Linked DNA regions of Homo sapiens: regions 1, 2 and 4 are each linked to region 3. Evidence: promoter capture Hi-C in human tissues and cell types (Jung and others, 2019). All regions are on one chromosome and are shown on one strand. The core of a region is centred on a gene start or on the middle of the fragment in contact, and the rest is flanking DNA. Distances in the headings are between cores, read along the strand shown.

Region 1 (2,888 bases), core at 88-2,587, 320 kb before region 3:
TAACTCGTTCAACCAATTGCCAGTCAGAAAATCTTTGAATCCACCTATGACCAGGAAGCCACTCCTTGCCCTCACTTCAAGTTGTCCCATCTTTCCACACCAAACTAACATATTCCTTACACATGCATTGATGGAGGTCTGCCTGTAATTTTTTTTTTTTTTTTTTTTGAGACTAAGTCTCACTCTGTCGCCTGGGCTAGAGTGCAGTGGAGGGATCTCAGCTTACTGCAACCTCTGCCTCCCAGGTTCAAGCAATTCTCCTGCCTCAGCCTCCTGAGTAGCTGGGACTACAGGCATGCCCCACCATGCCCGGCTAATTTTTATATTTCTAGTAGAGACAGGTTTTCACCATGTTGGCCAGGCTGGTCTCGAACTCCTGACCTCAAGTGATCTGCCTGGGATCACAAGTGCTGGGATTACAGGTGTGAGCACCTGGCCTGCCTGTAACTTCTGTCCCCCTAAAATGTGTAACATCAAGCTGTAACCCAACTGTCTGGGGCACATATTTTCAGGATCTCTTGGGACTGTGCCTCAGGCCTTGGTCATTCAGATGGGTTCAGAATAAATCCCTTCAAATATTGTATAGAGTTGACTTGTCCACAAAAGGGAAGGAAACAGGGCATTCTGACATTCTGAGACAGGACGGGTAGTGAGGAGCCTCTCACAAACCATGGATATGTGTATATGTGTGCATGTTCTTGCACATACCAGCACATGCCTCCCCAAAGAGTCCCCTACTCCCAATTCCAAGGATGTCCACCTCTGCCTTGGCCCAAAGTTCTCACCTCTACCAGGCTCTCCCGCACCTGTGGTCTGAGACATCAGCTGGTGGGTTTGGCTTTGAGAATAAACCTGGGTCACTTGGCGGGCTTTTTTCTGTCTGCTTGCCAGGAAGCCTGCTGAATTCCTCTCCACCTCTGCCCTTGTCCACAGAGAGGGGCGGCCCATGCAGTTCACAGCTAAACTTAGCCTGGCAACGCTGGAGTCACGGGGCAACAGGGGCTGAGGGAAGATGGAAGCTTCTGGGTGGCCCGGACAGAGGGCTGCAGGTGGCTGGCTGGGACCAGTGGTTTATTCAGACCTTTACTGTGAGGCTGGCCGGAAGCCAAGACCCTGGGAGAAATCCAAGGCTTCCTTCCTTCACTGGGGTCCCTCACTCCTGGGTCCCCCAGAGCCTGCAGCACTCCCCACCATAGCTTAATCCAATAAACACCACAAAGCATTGCCTAACACCCATAGCTCTCCCATTTCTCGAGCCCTCACTAGGATGTGCTGGGCACTGCACACACTAACCACTGTAAGTTTCTTTTCTTTTCTTTTTTTTTTTTTTTTTTGACCACTGTAACTTTCTAAGAGGTGGGTGCCATCCCTGTTTTGCAGATGGGTTAACCAAAGTCCAAGAGGCTAAGTCATTTTCTAGCCACAGGACTAGAAAAGCCATAGCTGGGCTGAGATTCAAGCTCATTCTGTCTGTCTTTGCCAGCAAAGCTCAAGTTTTTCCACTGTGCTACATGTACGGAGCACATACTGAGCTCGAGGAACATGATGGATGCTTCAGGGCCTGCAGTGATGAGTATGGCCTGACCCCTGGTAGCAAAAGCATTACAATCCACGCGGGAAGGTAGACAGCCACTACGTATGGAGTCCCCAGACAGAATGAGATGTGGGGCATAAAAGGCACGTGAGCTACAGGCTGCAAAATGCAGAGGAGGGAGGGAGCTTCCTTCCTGTTCTCTGAAGGCCTCTCCCTGTCTGGAGCTCTCCCTGCCCTCACCTGTTGGGGAGATGTCAGTGTGCAACTCCTTGGCTCCACCTTCACCTCCTCCTCTCCTTCCAGACAGAATTACTACAACCAACCAGGAACAGTAGGAGCATGTGTCCGGCCCCACAACCTGTTCATCACACCGCTTTTGCCCCACTGCCCATCTACTCCCACTGAGGGTTGACTGACCACAGCCTTAAGCAGCAGGGGTGCCCAGGACCCATTTCTTGGCCACCTGGTATTCCCTCTGGGACAGTGGTTCTCAACGTGCTTAGCAGCAACAGTGCCACCTGGCAACTTGTTACAAATGCAAATTTTCACAGGCAACCTGAAACCCGCTGATCAGAAATGCCAGGGCTGGGCCCAGTATCTGTGTCTCAACAAGCCCTCTAGGTCATTCTAATGCCCGCTTATGTCTGAGAACCATCCCTTCCCAAACCAGGCGTCCTCTGGGTAGGAGGGTGGGGCTCCTGCAGTGTCACAGCAGCCCACATCCTGGAAATTGCCAAGGGCTTGCCCAGCACACAGCCTGACAGATGCAATTAGCTCTGCTAATTACAACAGCAAAAGAAGGCCTGGCCCTGGCGTCACGTTCAGAGCCAAAAGGAGTAGCTGATAGGTTTCCTTTACGAAATGGAATAAAGGACTGGCTGAGGGCAGGGGAGGGCACTTTTAGCCGAGGCCTTGGGGGTGACTTGGGTCCCTTTCACTAGGTTCTGGGTCCTCCAAGAAAGAAGGAGCCAAGGGAGGCCCAAACTGCCATGAGTTTGGGCTGAACTCCTTCTGTATCCTGGCCTTGTGCTGCAGTTTCTCAGCCCCAGCTGATGAGGTACACAGTTGTTGGGGGGAAATCAAGCCAAATATTTAAGAAAGTCAGAATATAGAGTTGAATTTAGGTTTCTTTATTTTACAGAGGTAGAAACCGAGGCCTCAAGAGAAGACATGCTAGGCCTGGAGGGTGGGTGGAGTAGAAGAGGCAGGCTGGGTATCATCCCGTGGACCCTCCCAGGGAGCACCTGGCAGTGATTCCAGCACAGAACAGGGGAAGGGTGGTGAAAGGTGAAGATGTTTACATGACCAGCCATTTAGGAAGCAGGTACCCCATACTAGGCAGGATGCTAAGTAC
Region 2 (3,004 bases), core at 334-2,833, 270 kb after region 3:
TGTGACTGTTTGGTAACAATCACTTTATTGCTATAATTTTTAACTACATGAGTCATACTTGGATACACTTTTGTTTGAAAACATCTCAACATTACAAGTAAATTCAAGTGCTTCTAGCTACCTAACCCCAGCCCACCCCGGTTCCCTACCCAGTGGTAACTTCTATTAGTAGTTTTATATATTTTCCACTAGATTTTATATGTATTTGTTTACACGCTTATAAACTTAATGGAAATGTATTGCCTTGTTGTGTCTGGATATACTGTGTGTGTGTAATATATTTAGTATTATGTCTTAGAGACTTTTCAGGTCAATAACTCTGGTATCTGTCTTACTCTTGAATGCTGCTGTATAGTACTGTGTGTGTGTGTGTGTGTGTGTGTGTAATACACTCTATTTAGCCTTTCCCTGATAATTGTTATTCAGTTATGTTCATATCAACAGAGATGCAGTGAATTATGGGCTGTCATACCTTCTCATGGGCCTGTTTGTGCACTTTCTTTTCCCTGGAGGGCTTCTTTCCTTCCCTTACGTGCATGATACAAATAGGTCTTTTGCCTGATAGGTTAGAGTTTTTGGCATTTTAAAACCTAAATATAACAACTCACCATCCTATTTTCTGAACTGAAGGTCTTCAGTGAGAACTAATGTGTTCACACCAAATAAAGAAAGGAAAAGAAAGAAACTGAAGATCTGAATATTGGCCCAACCCCATATACTTCAGCCTCTGTCCTACCTGAGACGTGTGCTGGGAAGCTGCTGCTGGTGGGTCTACAACTTATCTGATCCGAACCATGAATTCTGCATGACTGGTCTCCAAAGACAGCAAACCTCCAATTTTCCGCATTTAGAACCGGTGATGGCTCTCATTCAAATAGTGGGGGCAGGAGGAAATAGAGACGAATTAATTATCCTGTATCATTGTGCCTCTCTTTGTGAGACTAAACAATGCAGCCATGAGTTGGGTAAAAAGAGGTCAGGGAGAGCTGTGTAAGCTTCTGCACTGGCATCAACCTTCCTGTGGAGTTTCTGAAGCAGAGGGTGGGGCAATACCCACTTGGAGAATGAAGCTGTTTAAATGACTTACTTTTGGCTTGAGGTCTGAAATTAGTTATCTGGATGGTTATTTGTGGTCAGGCTGGGCTTCTGCCATTGCAAAGATACAGATTAATGTGACTTTGGGCACTGGCCCTAAAATGAGGAGTGGAATAGGCCAGAGGGAAACATTAATGCTTTTCCATCACAACTCTCTGAGAAGTCTTTGGTCTGGAGCTGTGCTGTGGGAACTCCTGACGCTGACCTTGGAATGGGCTGTGGTTCACCACACACCAGAGCACCTAATAGCCTATGGTCTTTGATTGTTGACAATCCTCAGTGTATCTCAGTGGAGTACACCTGAAGGAGCTGCTAGTGGGTGCTCCCCAAGGCCTGGCACTTGGAAGCATAGTTGTATCTTTTGATTCTCCAGGCAACTGGGTCTTATCATACACTTATGGTGACAATTGGAAACAGTGTCCACAGATCCTTTAATGATTTATTGGGTATCCGTGTGCCTCACCCCTATTAAGTGTAAGTAGTGCAAATCAAGAAAAAGAAAACAAGGTGATTTCCCTTGAGGACAATACAATCAGGGGTATTCATAAAAATGACAGCCATAAGCATTTATGGAACAAGGGCTTTTAGCAGATGCTAAGCTAGGTATCTTATTACTCTTCATTGAATCTGAATAACAACAACTCTATTGTCTGAGCTGAGGTTCAGAGACATGAAAAGCTTGCACAGCTAGATCTGGCTCTGAGTCTAGTTGTCTTTGTACTACTCCAGTCTGCTTGTTTTCTTTATGTAGAACTGTGCTCTGCACTTTCAGAAATTAAAAAAAAAATTCATTTGTGACTGTTCTTTTGAGAAGCTTTTAGCAATTGCTGAAAATATCAAAAGCACACATGTATATTCAGAGAATAAATAGGGAGCTCTTAGGTGCAATTGGTGTAAATGCAGAGGAGGGCGTGGGTGGGAATTATAGGAAAGATCTTTGTAGTACAATGAGTACTGGAGCTGGGAGTAAAAAAGGAGACAATCTGAACATTGGAGGCAATGGTAAAGCAAAGCAGGTAAACTACGAAGGCCTTGAATGCCAGACAGAGGCAGATGTTTGACCTGATGTGGCAGCCAGGCAGGGAAGGATGCTCTAGGGTATCAGAGATCCAGGCAGAAATCTTGAGAAGTTGTCTTAGAGACAAAAGCAGGGTGAGAACATGACTCGGGGGTGGGACAGAGGTGGAGGCTGATATTCTCTACCTCTAGCTGATACCAGCTAGAGCAGCACCACCAAATCATACCCCTCCTGCTTTTGCAAAAGCACCCTTTCATTTTGCTATTGTGCTTGGCTTGTTTGGAGCTGCAAAAGGTCAGAGTTGAGTAGTTGTGGCGGAGGTCCACAAAACCCAAAATATTTACTATCTGGTTGTTTTACAGGAAAAAAAAGTTTGCCAACCTGAGCTAGAGCTACTTTAAATGGCCGGAAAGGGGAAGCAAAGCACAGTGTGCCTAGCCCATGTCAGATGCCGTGGTTGATAAATATATGCAAAGGAATGAGCCAAACATGGCAACGCAGAAGTTGCTGAGAGGAAAGGAACAACCACAACTGTGGTTGTTTGCCAATTTTAGATTGTTTGCCAGTTTTAGATTGTATCCCTCAGAAGGCAGGCCACTGAGGAGATGACTTCTGACTGGTGAAAGATGCCAGGGTTAATGATCCTTAATTTTGCAGAGCTCAGGGGCAAGAAGAGGAGAAGAAATGAGGAGAGGACTGAGGACCAGGGTGGTAAACACCAGAAGAAGGTGCTGACTGGATAAGGAAAGCCATGTGCTCACCCAGATTGAGAACATCAGATGGCCCCGTGAGAGCTGGCAGAGTGTCTATCTCTGGCCAGAATGGGGCATTAGGACAGGGAGGTTGAGCTGCAGTTCAGCTCTACTGAGAGGCTGACTTGGCTGCATCGAC
Region 3 (2,903 bases), core at 322-2,821:
CACATGTCCTGGGGCCTGTAAACCGCAGCTCGAGGTCGTCTGTGGGTTTAGCTCATTTCCCTTCAGCCCACCTGAAGTCTCCTTCTTCCTACGGTCACGAAGGATCTCAGCTGCACCAAGCGCGCAGGCTACACTCCTGCAGTAGCGGATTGGGGACCAGATAAGCCCACGCGGCTCCCGCCTGAGTACCCTCTTAACTGGCGGCCGACACTTTGAAACAATTGAGTCCGTTCAGAAACGGACTGGGGAGAGTGAGGGCACGACCTCAAAATCCTAGGCAGCAAAATGAGGTCTGGATCCTCCCTGGAAGAACAGACATCTCGACTACTCTCTCGCCCCACCTCTGGCCGGGAGGTCGGGGCAAGGAGAATCCCTCAACCGAGAAGATCTGGCAAGTCCCCGATCCCACCGGGGCCTTCCGCCTCTTTTCCCTCATCCCCTAGGAGGCTTTATCAGGTTCTAACCGCTTGTAGTGGGGGCCGTGGGTGCTCGGGGCGCCAAGAGGAGGGGGCTGCCGAGAGCGGCCTGCCTAGTTCTCAGCATTGCCTCTTTGACCACTCGCAGGCTCCTGGAAATGCAAACACAGCCCGTGCGTGATCCGCACGCGACCAAAAGCCGAGCGCACACCTCCCGCCCCCGCCCCACTTGCCATCGCTCACACTAACGTGCACACATGCTCGTGCAAACGCGCACGCACGGAACCGCGCGCCCCCTCACACCCAGCCGCGCTCCCGGCCCGGCTCAGCCAGGTGCCCCCACGCGGCAGCGCCCGGTCTGCCCGCCGGCCCCCTGCGAACCCCTCGCCTCACGCCCGCCTGCCTGCGCGCACGCACGCGCACGCACGCATTCCCCACGCCCCCGCGCGGGGGCGCAGGCCTTGGGTGGCGGGGTTTGGCCGGGAGCCGGCCGGGCCAGGGAGCGGCGAGCAGAGTCCAGGGTGCATCCCGCGCTTGGCTTCCGTGCGCAGCCTCCCCGCGCGGAGGCACCTGGCTCCCTCTCGGCTCTAGAACGCGAACAGTTGGCGTTGAGCACACAACTCCTCCTCCTTCTCCCCCGAGACCCCTGTACCCTCCCCGCGCGCCATCTCCCGCCCCTCATAACAGGCCCGAAGAGTAAACCCCCAAACGCGTCCAGAAGCGGCTCCCAACTCTTCGCCGGGAGCACGTTGGAGGCTGGATTTCGGAGAGACTCGGGATTGGGGTCTATTGCCGGCCCCTCCTGGATCCGGCTTGATTTTCATATTTTAAGAAGATTTTCTTATTACCTTTGATTACTCCTTTTTACCAAATTTCTGGAGGAGCTCAGTGGGGAGGATTGGGGGGAATCTGATTTTAAGAAAGAAAGCACCGAAGGGGCAATTATTAATTTTCCTCGGGTTTGGAATCACCCTCTGGACAAGAGAACGGGCGAGCGGGAGCTAGGAGGGAAGAGTGGAGAGGACCGGCGAGGCGCGCCAGCCGGAGCCACCTCCTTCCCGGCCGCCCCCTCCCCACTCCCCCTACACACACACGCTCGCTCGCTCGCCGGCGCGCGCACACCCCCCGCGCCGGACCCGCACCTCGGCGGGCGCCACACACTCGGCAGCCCGAGCCGCGGTAGCCGCAGCGGGATGGAGGCGGCGCGCACGGAGCGCCCCGCAGGCAGGCCGGGGGCGCCGCTTGTCCGGACGGGGCTCCTACTCTTGTCGACGTGGGTCCTGGCCGGCGCCGAGATCACTTGGGACGCGACAGGCGGTCCCGGACGCCCGGCGGCCCCGGCTTCGCGGCCACCGGCGTTGTCTCCACTCTCGCCGCGGGCAGTGGCCAGCCAGTGGCCGGAGGAGCTGGCGTCGGCGCGGAGAGCCGCCGTGCTGGGGCGCCGGGCCGGACCAGAGCTGCTGCCCCAGCAGGGCGGCGGCAGAGGCGGTGAGATGCAGGTGGAAGCCGGAGGGACATCACCGGCAGGCGAGCGGCGGGGCCGGGGCATCCCAGCTCCTGCCAAGCTTGGCGGCGCGAGGAGGAGTCGCCGGGCGCAGCCCCCAATCACCCAGGAACGCGGGGACGCCTGGGCCACTGCTCCGGCCGATGGTTCCAGAGGAAGCCGTCCCCTTGCTAAGGGTTCCCGGGAGGAGGTGAAGGCGCCGCGGGCTGGGGGGTCGGCGGCTGAAGACCTCCGGCTGCCCAGCACCTCCTTCGCGCTGACCGGGGACTCGGCCCACAACCAAGCCATGGTGCACTGGTCGGGACACAACAGCAGCGTGAGTACCCACCCGGCGGCGGGTCCGCCTGTTTCCTGACACCGAAGGGGAATGGGGGGGTGGGTGGGAGCGAGGGACAGATAGTTGCTCGGGGGTCGAGGCGGGGGACGCCTCGACTTTTCGAGATAACAGGTTTGTCCGATTCCCCCCACGCCCCCAACAGGTTAACGGAGTTTGTTGTTAGACGCTGTGTGTGTTTGTTTACTGGAGACCCTAGGCTTCGGCCGCCGGGAGGGGAGTGGAGGAAGGGGCTTCTTAAAGATGAGTGGGGGAGGGATCTGTGCTCACTTTCTCCAATACTTGGCTTGGAGGGTCAGTTTTCCTGTTTGCGGGGTGCTTGAATTCTTGGATGAGAAAAAGGGCTGACTTGGGGCGGGAGCCGCTGAACAGACCGATTCCTGCGGCTGCCGGGCTCCCCCTACCCCCACCCCACCCCCACCCCCCCTCCCGTCACGCGAAAGGGAACCCGGAAGGCCATTCGGACTCCCAGCCTCCTGCTCGCCTCGGGGTCGCTGCTATCCGCTCCAGGCGCGCAGTCCTCCAGCCCAAGAGGGAGGCTCGGCCAAGTCGGCCCCCAGCCTTGGCCTTCAGGTAACCCCGGTTCCTCCTTCAAAGTCCAGGGAGCGGCCCTGGAAAGCCGTAGCAGAGGCCGTAAAAAAAAGTTTAA
Region 4 (2,700 bases), core at 64-2,563, 420 kb after region 3:
GACTTCTGGTTGCTAATTCTACTCCTGCCACTGGGCAGCCAGGCCTTGGGGCACTAGTAGGATTTCTCTGGCTTTCTGCATCCTCATCTGTAAAATTCAAAGGGGTGATGACCAAGGGAGAACCGGCAGTGAATACCTGAGGTGCTTGCTAAAAATGCAGACTCTAGATAGAAGGAATAAATGCAATGTTCAATAGAATAGAGTAGAATAACTATACTTAAAAAATATATTGTACTTGGGTGAGGGATGCCCTAAATATCCTCAGTCACTATGCATCATATACATGTAAAAATTATGTACCCCACAACTTTGCACAAATAAAAAGAAATTTTAAAAATGCCGATAGTTTCTTCGGCCCCACCTGGAAATCCCTGCTCTGGATCTCTGGACCTGGGCCTCAGGAATCTCCATCTGAACAAGCTCTCCTGGCAATGCCTTTGTACACTAGATTTTGAGAACCAGAGGAGGTAGTTAAGAGGTCATTTTGAAAACCAGGGAGACAAATTAGTGGAGTCCCAGGTGTTCCCCTTTGAGTAGTACAAACTGGTTCCCCCTTATCAAAAACCCCCTCTTTTCTCCACCGTGCTTGAAATACACAGTGGAAAGGGTTGTTCCAACCAATGAAGACATTGGCACCTCCAGGCATCTTTTCAAAATACATACACTCCCTGCTAGATGAGATAATATACTTCCGTGTGCTTTGCAGGCTGCAAAGAATCTTTAAAATGCTTCATAACTGTAAAATGCTATATTGTTTTAGACTTTATTAAAATAATGCCTGTAGTTTTTATTAACATTATGACATGAATGAGGTTACTGATTTTATCTATGCCTGTTTAGATGTACTTAGGAATTCCATTGAAAAGACACTTTTGAGTCCCTACTCTTTGAACAGTGTATACATAGAAAGGGATATGAAGGACGGTAGGTAGGGGTTGTTCCAATTTCTGACTCTCTCTAAGGTAATAAATTATGCATTCAAGCCCATTGCCATGGGACTCTCAGTGTTTTTCCACTGTATGCAGTGAGAATTTCCCCAATCCCTTGGCTTGGGATCATCCATGTGACTTGCTTTGGCTGAGTTTAGCAAATGTGACACAAGCGGAAGCTCTGTCATTGCACTGTAGCTGTGGCCCCTCACCCCAGGCCCCATCACGAACCCACAGAGCAACCTGAGCCTTCCCCTCTATGGGATGCCAAGCTCTGCTGGATTCATAGCATGAAGCAGAGCCTCGCATTGAGCCCAGCCTAGAAAAGCTGATCCCAGCTGGCCTTAGATGTACCAGCAAAATACATAACTGTTGGTTTAAGCTGCTGAATGTTGAGGTAGTTTATTATGCAGCAAAAGCTAAGCTGATACAGTAGGACAAAGACAAGTTGAGACAACTGGACAAATGGCTGATACAAAGGATTGTTAGGTACCAGGAGACAGATACAGCCTGTGATAGAGGTGTCAGAGGAGTGGCATCAGTAATGTGTTCATGGAGGAGTTGGAATTTGAGGGGGGTTTGAAAGATGGTTTCAATTTCAACAGGCAAGCTTGTGTGCGTGCTTGTGGATCCTCTGGCATGGTGGGTAATGGCGGACATTTCAGTCACAGGAAGGAGAAAGAAGAGAAACAGAAAAGCATGAGGTGTGTTTAGGAAATTGTTAGTAGGTCAGTCTGTCAAGAAGTTCGGATTCTATGCTTGGAGAGAGAGAGATTGGCCGATAAGCCTAGAAAAGAAGATTAAAGTGATAACTTAGAGGCTTTAAATGCCAGGCTAAAGATTTTGCAGTTAATACAGTGCACCTTTAAAGGGTTCCACTCAGGGGCAGAGCATGCTCAGGACTGGTCTTTAGGAAGCTCATTTTTACAGCAGGGTGAAGGGCAAATTACACAAGGAAGAGCTGGGGACGAGGTGGCCAATTAAAAGGCTATTCATTACTGGGGGCAGTGAGTCCTGGAAAGAGAAGATGGAAATCCAGGGAATTCTAGAAGATGTGGTTTGCAATTTAAAAAAGTTAAAAAGTCTGGGCGCGGTGGCTCAAACCTGTAATCCTAGCACTTTGGGATGCTGAGGCAGGCGGATCACCTAGGTCAGGAGTTCAAGACCAGCCTGACCAACATGGAGAAACCCCGTCTCTATTAAAAATATAAAATTAGCTGGGCATGGTGGCACATGCCTATAATCCCAGCTACTCGGGAGCCTGAGACAGGAGAATCCCTTCAACCCGGGAGGCGGAGGTTGTGGTGAGCTGAGATCACGCCATTGCACTCCAGCCTGGCCAACAAGAGTGAAACTCCGTCTTAAAACAAAAAAAAAAAACAAACAAAAAAGTTAAAAACAATTTAAGTATAGAAAATAAATTCAAATTCGTTTGCAGTCTTAAAATGTTTCCTGTAATGTGTAACATCTAGAAACTAGAGTTCTACTTGGAAACAAATTCACAAGTTATGGTGGCCACCAATTTATAGACTTTACAAATAATTTTTTAAACAAGGGCTCAAATTCAGCATAATATTTACACATTTGTTGGAAAGCTGTGCTCTGGACTTAGGTATCATTTCTCCCAGGGTAAGAAAGCACTGAAGAAAGTTCTCTGAGTAGTTTTGTGTTTGTTTTGTGGGGGTGAGGTAGGGTGGGAGAGATGTTTTAAGTGGTGTTCCTTTTTTTTTTTTTTTTTGAGGTGGAGTCTCGCTCTGTCACCCAGGCTGGA

Evidence for each region. Contacts are between HindIII fragments. The study calls those that stand out against the background at their distance.
Region 1: a fragment that was not itself captured here is called in contact with the fragment with the promoter of SORCS3 in region 3 in 1 of the 25 tissues and cell types used here (mesendoderm cells).
Region 2: a fragment that was not itself captured here is called in contact with the fragment with the promoter of SORCS3 in region 3 in 1 of the 25 tissues and cell types used here (dorsolateral prefrontal cortex).
Region 4: a fragment that was not itself captured here is called in contact with the fragment with the promoter of SORCS3 in region 3 in 1 of the 25 tissues and cell types used here (lymphoblastoid cells).

Annotation. Positions count from the first base shown.
Region 1 is chr10:104,320,388-104,323,275 of GRCh38, forward strand. The region is part of intron 1 of ITPRIP (inositol 1,4,5-trisphosphate receptor interacting protein); the gene reads right to left. Among named protein-coding and RNA genes, the nearest start is that of ITPRIP-AS1, 1.5 kb to the right of the region's middle. The HindIII fragment of the contact is 8,518 bases long and covers 1-2,888 here.
Region 2 is chr10:104,906,770-104,909,773 of GRCh38, forward strand. The region is part of intron 2 of SORCS3 (sortilin related VPS10 domain containing receptor 3); the gene reads left to right. Among named protein-coding and RNA genes, the nearest start is that of SORCS3-AS1, 240 kb to the left of the region's middle. The HindIII fragment of the contact is 5,097 bases long and covers 1-3,004 here.
Region 3 is chr10:104,639,719-104,642,621 of GRCh38, forward strand. SORCS3 (sortilin related VPS10 domain containing receptor 3) reads left to right here and starts at 1,572. Exons shown (of 27, transcript NM_014978.3): 1 at 1,572-2,236. The coding sequence starts at 1,610. The HindIII fragment of the contact is 5,425 bases long and covers 1-2,903 here.
Region 4 is chr10:105,058,646-105,061,345 of GRCh38, forward strand. The region is part of intron 5 of SORCS3 (sortilin related VPS10 domain containing receptor 3); the gene reads left to right. Among named protein-coding and RNA genes, the nearest start is that of SORCS3-AS1, 390 kb to the left of the region's middle. The HindIII fragment of the contact is 6,011 bases long and covers 1-2,700 here.